Linked DNA regions of Homo sapiens: regions 1 and 2 are each linked to region 3. The links are contacts of gene promoters, found by promoter capture Hi-C in blood cells and fetal thymus (Javierre and others, 2016). All regions are on one chromosome and are shown on one strand. Each heading gives the region's core, a stretch centred on a gene start or on the middle of the fragment in contact. The rest is flanking DNA. Distances are from core to core; before and after follow the strand shown.

What was found. The method cuts DNA at HindIII sites, captures the fragments that hold promoters and counts their contacts. A CHiCAGO score of 5 or more calls a contact.
Region 1: the fragment with the promoter of LIMS1 here is called in contact with the fragment with the promoter of LINC01594 in region 3 in 3 of 17 cell types (M2 macrophages, M0 macrophages and M1 macrophages); the score reaches 7.8 in M2 macrophages.
Region 2: a contact is called between a fragment that was not itself captured here and the fragment with the promoter of LINC01594 in region 3, in 3 of 17 cell types (M0 macrophages, megakaryocytes and M1 macrophages). The highest score is 10.8, in M0 macrophages.

Annotation. Positions count from the first base shown.
Region 1 is chr2:108,532,852-108,537,083 of GRCh38, reverse strand. LIMS1 (LIM zinc finger domain containing 1) reads right to left here and starts at 2,614. Exons shown (of 10, transcript NM_001193483.3): 1 at 2,490-2,614. The coding sequence starts at 2,521. GCC2-AS1 (GCC2 antisense RNA 1) reads left to right here and starts at 2,865. Exons shown (of 3, transcript NR_135290.1): 1 at 2,865-3,255. RefSeq lists silencers at 2,369-2,968, 3,457-3,751. The HindIII fragment of the contact is 7,547 bases long and covers 1,359-4,232 here.
Region 2 is chr2:108,577,565-108,581,409 of GRCh38, reverse strand. All of the region lies in intron 1 of LIMS1 (LIM zinc finger domain containing 1), which reads right to left. Among named protein-coding and RNA genes, the nearest start is that of LIMS1, 45 kb to the right of the region's middle. The HindIII fragment of the contact is 1,538 bases long and covers 1,326-2,863 here.
Region 3 is chr2:108,216,138-108,220,531 of GRCh38, reverse strand. It overlaps LINC01594 (long intergenic non-protein coding RNA 1594), which reads left to right and starts at 2,691. Exons shown (of 5, transcript NR_131251.1): 1 at 2,691-2,837. The HindIII fragment of the contact is 2,331 bases long and covers 914-3,244 here.

The DNA of each region.
Region 1 (4,232 bases), core at 1,365-3,864, 320 kb before region 3:
CTGAATTCTTTACCTTTATGTACTCACAGGAAAATAATGTCAATTTCACTTTTTAAGTGAAATGGTACAGTCATGCTGGAAAAAAACTGTCAGTTTCTCAAAAAACTAAACATACGATTTCTGTACAACCTGCCAATTGCACACTCTTGGACATTTATCCCAGAAAAGGAAAAGTTACATTCACATAAAACTTAGACAGGCTGAGCACAGTGGCTCTAAAATTCCAGCACTTTGGGAGGCTGAGGTGGGTGGACTGCTGGAACCCAGGAGTTTGGGACCCCCAGACTAGCCTGGACAACATGGCGAAACCCTGTTTCTACCAAAAAAATACAAAAATTATCCAGGCATGGTGGCGTGTGTCTGTAGTCCCAGCTACTTGGGGGACTGAGGTGGAAGGATTGCTTCAGCCTGGGAGGTCTAGGGTGCAGTAAGTCATGATCATGCTACTGCATTCCACTCCAGTCTGGGTGACTAAGCAAGACACTGTCTCAAAAACAACAACAAACACCTGTCTATTTGTTCGTAGTAGCTTTCTTAATAGCCCAAAACTAACAGCCTGAATGTCCTTCAAACATGTGAACAGTTAAACTGCTGTACATCCATACCATGGAGCACTACTGAGCAACAAAAAGGAACAAACTATGACATGCACAACAAATAGCGTATGATTCCACTTACATGAGATATGAGGTACCAGCAGTAGTCAAAGTCATAGACAGAAATTAAAATGATGGCTGCCAGGGACTGGCGGGAGGAGGGGAATGGAGAATTATTGTTTAATAGGTACAGAGTTTCAGTTTTGTAAGATAAAGATTTCTGGACATGTATGATGGTTACGGATGCACAATAATTTGAATGAACTTATTACTCTCCCTCCAAAAAGTAAATTACTAATGGTAAATTCAGGATGGGAAGGGGATAGGATGCGGAGAGACACTGGACCAGAGAGGTTTGAAGGTCTTAAAAGGAAACTATTATCTCCTTTATTACACTACATATCCGTTATTCTTAATATCTCACAAATACTTTAAATTTTATATCAACTTACTAGTCAATACTTTTTTTTAAGGAAAAAAGTCCATGATGAAGGAGTACAAATTATTGTTATCAAATCTTGAGCTTTGACTCTTTTTTGTTACTTGTGACCAAATGGCAGGCGTGCACTTCTGTAATAGAGCGATGAGCTGAATTAACTTGCTTGTGTCATGAAATACCATTTTTACGGGAAAGAACAACTGACAAACTAGGGTTATTTAAACCTGTATTGCCGGACACTTCCTTGAAACTGAACAAAGTGAGTCTGTCACTTTGAGGAAAACAATTGACAATATTTTGCTCCCAATGATAAAAAGCAAGCTTTCAACCGAAAATGAGAATTTTGGAAAACTTGTAAACACCACCTTGTATCTGACGGCTTTTAACATAAAGACTTTCCTAATGAAATCAATAGCGATGGTAACGAATGTTATTCGGCGCTATTAATGAAATGCGTCAGCTTGAGATCTGCCAAACTCAGTGAGCCAATATCTTCCAAACGACAAATATATGGTGTTACAATGGGTAACAGCTGCATTCAAACTGCAAGACAGACCAAGGAATTTTAACGTAACTGTGTGCAAAGGCCACTGACAGGAGCTTTAGCTGCATTCAAACTGCAAGACAGACCAAGGAATTTTAACGAAACTGTGTGAAAAGTCCGCTGACAGTAGCTTCAGATTCCACGTCCAAACCAGCCTTTGAGAAACTTCCACTTACGTAGTTTTGGTGTAGTAATAAAGAATACCCATAATTATCTGAAACAGCTATTAAGACAGTACTCACTTTTCCAACTACACATCTGTGTAAGATCAGATTTTCTTCATATAAAAACATACCGCAACAGACTGAACTGCAAAGGAGATGGGAGAACGTAGTTGTCTCTACTAAGTCAGACAACTCAAGAGATTCGCAAACTGTAAAGGACGCCAGTCGTCCCACGAACTCTTTTGTTTTAGCAAAACCCTATGTTGCATAAAAATGTGGTATGTACGTTAACATACCACGGATTTATTCAATGAGTTAATAGTAACTTCAGTGTCTCGGTTTTCCTTTCTAGTACAGTCTATGGAGATAGCCACCATTCCAGGTCCTCTAGTCCCAAGAGGGGTCCTGAGACCAAGACGTCTGCGACCCGCTGATCCCTACTGCTAGAAGATAAATGATTAGCTCGGCAAATACTGATTTGTCTTATGGAACTCTCGGAGCAGCGGGGCGGCGTCAGCGCCTGTGCCACCGCGGACACCCGGGAGTGAACAGCAGCCGTCTCCTCCGCGGGCCCGGACGCAGCCACGCCGCCACCCGAGCGCTGGGGGTCGGGGCTCCGGCCGACCGGGGGAGGCCGCGGGGAAAGCCCGGCCGCCCGCCCGCGCCAGGCCCGGCCCGGCCCGGCCCGAAGGCCCGCCGGGAGCTGCGGGGCGGACGTGGCGGGGGCCGCGCGGTGCGGCCCGTACCTGTGGGTCATCCCGGCCGCCACGCCCAGCATCTCTCCGCTTTCGGCCGCCGCCGTCTCTCAGCCCCTCGTCTCCCGGCGCCGCTCCAGCCGCGTCCTAGTCCCTCGCCGCCGCGGCCGGCTACTGGCGGGCCCGGAGCAGGAAGGGGAGGAAGGCCAGGGGCCGGCCGCGCGGGGGCGCGGGAGGGGGGGGAAGGCGAGGCGGGCCGCGCGGGAAGGCGGGGGAGGGGCGGGAGCGGCTGGGCAAGGAGGGGCGGGGACTGGCGGGGCGGGCGCCGAAGGGCGCGGACTGGAGAGGTAGGCGCGGGGGGGCGGGGCGTTGCGGGGCGGGGCGCGCATCAGACCCCGCCCCAACCCGTGGCTCGGGCCCGCCCCCATTTCAGCACCCCAGGCTAGTCTGGGAGGCTGGCGCAAACGCAGCGGGTGGCTGGGGTAGGGGCTCATTGGGAGCCCACGGAGCGCGGCGGCGGCTCGGGGGCCGAGTTCCCTACAACAAGGATGGCGGTGACGGGCGCAGGGAGCGGGGCCCGGCTCTCCTTGCCTCGAGGCTCCTCTGATTCCACTCGCGTGGCTGCGCGGCCCTGGCAGCGGCCTTCGTCCCGGGGGTGGGAGCTACACAGGGTTCCGCCCCGTCCTGGCGAGGACGCCTGAGGGGGCTCTGTGGTAAGGCTCTGTCGGGCAGGCCGGGCTTCCGGGAGGACCTGGTCTGGATCGGTCACCGCTGGGTGCCTGAGCTCCGCATGGAGCCTGCAGCCTTTGTTTAACTTGTGAGTTAAGAAAAGTTAACCTTTCTTGGAGAGTTTCCAGTCTTGCCTCTGCATCCTGTTCTTCCTTGCTAGCTCTCATTTTCTTCACCCATTCCGTCTATCAAAACCTGAAATTTTGGGGCCGGCGCAGTGGCTCACGCCTGTAATCCCAGCACTTTGGGAGGCTGAGGCAGGCGGATCACCTGAGGTCAGGAGTTCGAGACCAGCCTGACCAACATGGAGAAACCCCGTCTCTACTAAAAATACAAAATTAGCCGGGCGTGGTGGTGGCACATGCCTGTAATCCCAGCTACTCGAGAGGCTGAGGCAGGAGAATCGCTTGAACTTGGGAGGCGGAGCTTGTGGTGAGCTGGGAGATCGCGCCACTGCACTCCAGCCTAGGTAACAGGCTCCGTCCCAAAAAAAAAAAAAAAAAAAAGTGAAATCTCCAAAGGATTTAATAGATTTAATAGATAAGACAAGTTATTCATCCTGGGCATAAATGATCTCTCTCAGGATACCTGATTCTGTAACTATAGCTACTCTCTAGTAATAGAATGAAAACTTTGGTCTCCTGCCAGTCGAGGCATGTCGGAGGAAAACACTGGATCTATTTGATGTCCTCACATGAAAGTAAATTCCAAACAAAGCAAATAGTTAAATGTTCAAAAAACAAAAAAAAAAAAAAAAAAAAAGAGAGAGGTTATGAAAATACCAGAAGAAAACAAGGGAAAAAAACAAAAGTAAGGTTGGAGTGGTGAGAGACTTTTCAAAGAGCATATAAACCATAAAATTAAAAATTGATAAATGTAGGCCGGGCACGGTGACTCACGCGTGTAATCCCAGCACTTGGAGAGGCTGAGGTGAGTGGATCACCTGAGGTCAGGAGTTTGAGACCAGCCTGACCAACATGGTGAAACCCCGTCTCTAATAAAAATACAAAAATTTCACCGGTTGTGGTGGCGGGGTTCCTGTAATCCCAGCTACTTGGGAGGCTG
Region 2 (3,845 bases), core at 845-3,344, 360 kb before region 3:
TGGGAAACGTAGAAGCAAAATAAAGAAATTATTTGATTGATTTGAAATTACAGAATTGCCTTTTTTTAGGTACCTTGTTGGAAAGCCCCTAGTCACTTAGTCATATGTTAGTTGGCAGCTTACGACTGGCGGGGGTTAAGTTTTACTTCTAACATAAACATTTATCAAAATGACTCTACTTGTTCTGCTTATGTCTGCAATTTAAGCAAGGCTGAGGTAACATATAAGGCCTAACTGGTTTTGTGCGCTCAGAGATTTCACAGGCCTGGTCTTCATTTTAACTTCCTTTAACAATACTCATTCCAAAACCCACTCAGACCCAAACCTGCCTAAGGTAGGGAAGCAGAAGGAAGCACGTTACAAATTCCATGGCAATACGGTGAGAAGATTTCAGCAGCCCAGGGACACAAAAAGAGAGTAACAACCTTGGCAGAGGCCACGATGCTGGAGTGAGAGGGCCCTGATGGCAGAGCTGGAACCCCACAAGTAATTTAATGGGGAAGTGTTGTTCATACCCAAGTGTTCTTAAATTAAATGTGGTCTGCTTAGATACTCCAACTTATTACTTCATAACTGAATGAAAGCCCCATCCCCCTCCTGAAACTCTCTCTCCTCCATGCAAGGGACCACTATGAACACAATGGTTCTAGTCCAAGCGAGAAACCTGAGAGTCATCTTCAACAACTTAATCATCCTCACACACCTCCCAATGTCCAGCTGCAAAGTCCTTTCTTCTCTGCCTCTTAACTGTTTCTGAATCGATTTACTACTTTATATCTGTACAGGCTGCATCTACTTCTGGCACCATCACCTCCTATGTGGATTAATGCAACAGCCTTGTAACTGGCCTCTGAACATCCCTCTTTCCTAATCACTGTTCCCAAACCACCTCTTCTCTGAGCTACCGTAACACTGCCTTCTGGGTGGTCATGTCATCCACATGGGTACCCATGTCGTCCACTCTCTGTTTCAGGTAACAGATCTAGTTGTCCTGACCACCTAACAGTCACCTACCTTGATTGACTAGGCATGGTGCTTCTTCCTATCCTCTGGCCACAATGACTGGTCCTGGTCCATTTGGACTATGGACTTGAACTAAGTTAATCAGATACTATTTCTCAAAGACTAGAAATCTGAGTAGAGACTAACACCCTGCAGTTAGAGGAAGTCAACTCAGAGCACTGCTCTATAGAGACATCCCACAAGTTCTGCAGAGACACCGGGAAAGCCCTAGTTGTTTGCCCTTCTCAGAGACCTGTAAGTTCAGCCCATTCTTCAATTCTGGGAGCAACCCCAGTATTTTTCCAGTAAATTTCTTTGAAGCTTCTGTTTGCCTGAGTCTATTCCTGTTGTTGATAATCAAGGAAACTACAGTGCCAGTAAAAACGGACCTGGCTGTCCTTGCTCCCACCCGGCATCCCCCAGCTCCAGCCCTCACTGCACAGGCTGCAGCCCTGCGGATCTGCCTGTCACATCTCAACAGCCCTCCTGGCCTGGTGCCTCTTGCCTTCCTCCCTAAACTCTTCTTGGGATGATTCCCATTCACACTCGGACTCAGTCAAGAGGTCGCTTCCTCTGGGAAGTTCTCCGGAAGGCCCTCTTGCTCCACAGGAATTTGCCTGTGTCCTTTAGTCTGACCTCAAGTTACAAGTGATGATTCCTGTTCACAGCTGTGCCCCATGCCAGTCATGCCTGGCAGAGGGCAGGCTCGCTGTGAATACTGTCAAACAAATGAGCAAATGAGGAAATCAGAAACACTTCAAATGAGTATTCAGGGAAGTGTAACACAAGTTTAAAAATAAATGTATTTCTCTGGAATCAAGAGACTCTAGGCATCCAATATTAAATTCATTGTATTTTAATATTAATTCATAGTCCAAATCATTTGACCATGCTTTTGCTTTGTGAAAATTCCTAAGTTGTGCACTTAAGATTTTTGCACTCTTGTGTATTACATATTAATAAAATTTTTAAAAACACATTTAACATCACTGAAAACCATAGATACAGACTAGTAATAAGTTCATATGCTTGGAAACATTATATAGTGGTAGAAGGTACACTGAGTACAAGTAAAATTATAGTCTTAATCATGCCACTTACTATAAGAGCTGTGACATCTTGGTTCGATAAAAATTCTTTATATTCAGCTTTAATATCCATAAAATAACATAATTACCATTTTGTCCAAATCTCAGGGCTACAGAATAGATTTTTTAAAATTATAAAGGTGAAAATTCAAATATAAGTTGTTTTTGTTACAAAATTTGGAATCATCTCAAAATGAATGTTAGTTAAACCAGTCAAAAAAAATTGGACTTTGGAAAACACAACACTTTGGCATGAAACTGCCTACAAAATCCCATGAATGCATACCAAAAAGTGATATAGGATAATGAATCCAGGATGCTAACCTGAAATTTAAGACTAAATTTATTCTTGAGGAACAAAAAAATGATATCCCTACATCATCATTTTTCTTTGTAAACTAGATTTAAAAATTATTTACATTTCATGACCAGGAGCAATGGCTCACGCCTGTAATCCCAGCACTTTGGGAGGCTGAGGCAGACAGATCACGAGGTCAGGAGATTGAGACCATCCTGGCTAACACAGTGAAACCCCATCTCTACTAAAAATACAAAAAAATTAGCCAGGCGTGGTGGTGGGCACCTGTAGTCCCAGCTACTTGGGAGGCTGAGGCAGGAGAATGGCGTGAACCTGGGAGGTGGAGCTTGCAGTGAGCTGAGATCGTGCCACTGCATTCTAGCCTGGGCCACAGTGAGAGACTCCGTCTCCAAAAAAAAAAAAAAAAAAAAAAATTATTTACATTCCATGAACTAAGACAAACATTTCTTAAGCTTATGATAACGGAAATGCTTTTAAGAGTTCAGCTAAGGCATTAACCTTCTGGCTGCAGTAATCTCAGAGAAGGGGGTGGAGGAAAGTGCAGATATTCCTTATTTCATATGGTGGAGATATTATAACATTTAAAACTACTTCAAAATAAGTGCTTGCATTTAAAGAGAGTATAACAAAATATGAAAGGATGTAGAGATTAAAAATATATGAAACACATCTTTACATATACACATGCTAATAAGCTCTTAAAAATAATTGAATGATAAAATGAACCATAATTAGAAATGGTGACTAACAGGCAATTTTATTGTATACCTCTCTATAGTATCAAAACATACAGGCTGGGCGCGGTGGCTCATGCCTGTAATCCCAGCACTTTGGGAGGCCAAGGCGGGTGGATCACGAGGTCAGGAGTTCGAGACCAGCCTGGCCAAGATGGTGAAACCCCATCTCTACTAAAAAATACAAAAATTAGCCAGGCGCAGTGGCGGACATCTATAATCCCAGCTACTCGGGAGGCTGAGGCAGGAGAATCACTTGAACCTGGGAGGTGAAGGTTGCAGTGAGCCGAGACTGTGCCACTGCACTCTAGATCGGGCGACAGAACAAGACAAGACTCCGTCTCAAAAAACAAAACAAAACAAAACAAAACATACAATCTCAGAATAGCATTTAACAGTCACACGGTAAGAGGAGAGAACAGATGGGCAAGACTTTATTTCTCAGAAAAAATAGATTTTCATTTTTTAACTGCTGAGCCAAAATACTTTATTAAGTTCCCAGAAATGCTAAACAGCTTTGTAAGAACATCTGAAGCACCTTTTTTCTCTCTCTCTTAAAAAATAAAGTACTACAATATAGATTCATGTTTGTTAAGAATGTAAAATACATTTTAAGAATGTAAAAACATTTAGTTATTGTAAAAATTAACTTTTGAGCAAATGCAAGTGTTAACCTACCCTTACCCACTCTGTACCATTAAA
Region 3 (4,394 bases), core at 1,442-3,941:
GGCTCAGAGAGATGAAGTGGTGGTTTCAAGGTCACAGGGCTGGTATGTGGCACAGCAAAATCAGCCTCAAACCCAAGTCTCAGCTCTAAACAGCCAGGCCATGCTGTCTTTCCGGGAACAGCCGGAGGCCTCTCCTTTCTCCTATGCCAGCTGCTTGGATGCTGGAGCACAGTGGCCTGACAACACGTGACCACCTTTAATGGACAACCATTCATTGTGTACCTGTCCAATGAACACACTATCCTTTCAGTGAGGACAGAGTGTTATCTGCCCTCAGGAACACTCTGCACCTTAGACTTGGTCCAAGTCTCCCTGGGACAAGCCTTATCTGTAAATCTATAATATTTATAATGATAATTTATAGTTGAAGGCCTGTGATAGGCAGAATGATGGCCCCGGAAGATATCCATATCCTAGTCACCAGAACCTGTGAATATGTTTGTCAGTTTCCTTCAAGTTTACATCTTGAGACTAGGGAGGAAAAAAACATGGCAAAAAGTTTTAAAATGCATTTTGGGGCTAAACTGCTCGGTTTTGAGACTGGTTTGAAGTCTGGTGGAGGCTGGGGCAGAGCTGGAGTCTGGTTTGTTGATAGCTGCATCTAGCAGGAAGTGAGGGGGAATGAGCAGGAAAGACCTTGAGCCATTGACCAGGCCCTTGGTGTTCCTGTGCCACGTGGGCTAACAAGGTCGGAGGGAGGCATAGGACACTGGCCTGTGCTTCAGGAGACTGTCCCAGGCTCTCCACAGGTGCTGCAGCTCTGAGTCCCCTTTCCTCCTCCCTCCCCACAGATTTAGATTAATCTCTTCTCTGAACAAGAGTTTAGATTTTTTTTTCAGATTTGCTGTTTGGCTTCTGTTCACAACCGTTAAAAAGTGTGAGTCATCCATTTAAAACTGACTTAATCAAAGCTTAATTTGTTATATTTCTCAGTGTCTGCCTTGGACAAATCTCTGATTTTACCAAAAGCTGCTATGTTCAAAATCCAACATCCCATACATAAAGTGTTGACTAATTAGTTCTGTCTGTGCAGCAGCTCTCACAGCCAAACCTGGCCCATGGTTAGAATGCATTAAGGGTGAGATATATTTTTTAAGCTGCCATGAGGTTGGAAAAAAGGCCATGATTCTCTGCATTTTCTTATTTTGACGTTGGTGCAATAATGTTGAAATTATTTGCAATTCAGTGTGAGGTACTCATGGCAGTACACGGCGATGGGTGGAAGTATGTTAGTTGAACATTATTATAATATTCGTAAGAATTTAAGCCCATTATTTTCTTGTCTGGTACCTAATTGGACTGCATTTAATTTATTTCTTCATCAATAAGCACTCATATATTATTTCTTGGTTATTTTATTGTTGTCAGTACTGACAACACAATTTACAAAACTTTAAAAATTACATTTAAATAGAAACTTCATTGTTACTTTAAAGACTCATATAATAAATGATAGTCTTCCAGTTTCCATTCAATTCATCAGACGTTTATTAAGCAGCTACCTTGGACCAGATACTGTTCCAAGTTTTTCAGTTTCATCAGTGTTTTACATAGATAGATAGATAGATAGATAGATAGATAGATAGATAGATAGATAGATATAAAATCTGTGCCAATGAGCTGTAATTTTAGCCATAATCTTGGACAAGAAAGTAGTGAATTTATTTCCTTTAAGGACGTGTATTTGTAACTCATTTTTATGCTGTGTCTTTGTGCTGATGATATTTTGCAGTTGTCACAGTGACTTATGAAAAATTCTAAGGGGGAATCAGGCTAGCTCCCTAAGAATCACACTTTTAAACTCATGGTTTTAAAAAGTCTGGCCATTAAGTGCAATGATTAAGGTTAAATTTGTGTACCTTTTACCCAAGAGGTCAAAAGTCAGATTGTCTTCAGAGTCTCACTAATGAACAGCACATTCAATTCATTATGGTGAAAGATGCTTGAATTTTGACCACCACCCCGTCTTTAGACTATTTAGTGTCACTATAAAGGAATAGCTGAGGCTGGGAAATTTATTTTAAAAAATGTTTATTTGGCTCATAATTCTGATGGCTGGAAGACTGGACACGTGGTGAGGGACTCAGACTGCTTCCACTTCTGGCAGAAGGTGAAGGGGGTCAGTGCATCCAAAAATCACATGGTAAGACAGGAAGCAAGAGAAGGGAGTTTCCAGGCTCTTTTTAACAACCAACTCTTGTGGGAAGGAATAGAGCAAGAGCTCACTCACTCCTGGGGAGGGTATTAATCTATTCCTGAGGGGTCTCCCACTATCACCCAAACACCTTCTGTTAGACCCCACCTCCAACATTTAGAATCAGATCTCAACATAAGGTTTGGAAGGGACAAATGTCCAAACCATGGCAATCTCTTTCCCAGGGAATACTCATCCTGTATATTTTTCCATGTGAGATCCAACCATAACCTAGGCATCTCTTGTGAGAAAACAATGCTGGTAGAATTCTGAGATTCAGTCCACTGGATACCTGTGGGAGGCCTTGAATGTTGCCTTTGTAAATCATCTCTAGTTCTGGCCATGTGATTGTTGGGCAATGGGCAGAGGCTGAGAATGGTCTTCCTGGAGCCTCCAATTTAGTGAGCAAAGTGTAGAGTATGTTAGAAGAGATGATACTTGTGATGGAAATGATTAGGGCAGAATAAGGGGAACCAGGAAGTGCTGGATTGTAAGTAGAATGATCAGGGAAGACATGACTGAAATGATGCTTTCTGGGTAAAGATTGAAGGATATGAGGAGAGGGTCATGTAGCTGTTTGATCGAAGAGCATTCTTGGCAGAGGAAATGCCAGGCCAAAGTCTCTATGGCAGGACTACACTAGGTGAGTTCAAGGAAGAGTGGGGAAGTCACTAGGTCTGAAGAGAAGTGAGTGTGCAAAGGTTAGAAGGTGGTTAGAAAGGGACCTGGGGACAGATGGTGTAGGACAGGAGACCGTGATACAATTCAGCTTAGACTGAATGGGTTGGGGCACTGCTGCAGCATTTTGATCAGCACAGTGATGTGATCCATTTAGGATCATATGGTGACTGGGTAATTATGACATAGAAGGAGGGATATTCATTAGGTTGTGATTGCAAGTCTTCAGGGAAGACACGCCAGTGACTCAGAGGAGGTTGGTCACAGTAATGTTGATAAGAAGAGGTCATGTTCTGGATATAGTTTGAAGTCAGAGCCAAATGATGTATGGATTGGATGTAGTGTGCAAGAGAGAGAGAAATAGAATAAGCTTTGGCTGAGCAACTGAAAAGATGGAGTTGCCTTTTAATTGAGATGAAGAAGACAGTGGGTGAATTAGGTTTGTGGGTTTGACTTTTTCTGTTTGAAATGTATATAAAACAAGGAAGTAGAGATATGAAGTAGGCAGTTGGGCTGACAATTTAGGAATTCAGGGTTGAGATCTGAGGTGGAGATAAAAATTTGGAAGATGGTACCATGTTGCAGAAATTTAAAATCCATGTGAGAGAATGAGATTATCTAAGAAGCGAGCCAGAGAAAGAAGAGATAGAAAGCAGAAGTAACATAAAAGCTGTAATACTATTTAAGCCTTTTTCTCTGTTTTTATGATGTTTCTTTTATAAGGATTATTTTTAAAATTTCTTTGCCACATTATTCTAATGAGTCCACTGTCTAGTTTTACGAAAACACATAATAATGTTCCTCAATATCTATATTTCACTATGCCACTCGACCTACCCAGCATTTAAAGGTGCACTTGAGTGTTTATGAAACGTTCTTTTAATCTCCTGCTATATAAAAAGGAAAAAGTCAAAAATATTAACAGCTGATGGACAAAGAAATAAATTACGTATTTGCATGTGGAAATAATAAAGCAACTTAGAACTAAATCACAAAGTTATCTGGGAAGGACATTGAATGTTTTATTGTAAATCTTTAACATAACTCAAAAATTAGTAGTAGTATTGGAGAACATGCAAACCTCATGTTAGTTTACATTTCAAAATCAATTATTCATGTCAGAAACATGTTCAAATTTCTGTGAAAGTTTAGAAGATATGTATCACAAATAAAAGCATTTCAAATGCTCACACAGGATTTTTGGGAGAGAGGAGAGAGAAACCACATTAATTTAAACAAGAAAAGTTTAATACAGAGAATGATTAACTCTAACAAGAGATTGGAGTAACGAGGTGTTGGCAAGTAAGAAGTAAAACTCTGAAGAATATAGGAATATCAAATATAAGGAACAGCCACTATCCCTAGGGCTGAGATAGAGTAAGAGCCTCTTCGAAAAGAACCTGTCTTCCCATGCCCACCAGGACTGAGACCCAGACCTTATGGGAGAGGACGTGGCATGACTCATGGGACAACAGAGAAGCTACTGCGGTTCAATTCTGGAAGAACTTGCTCTACTCTCTGA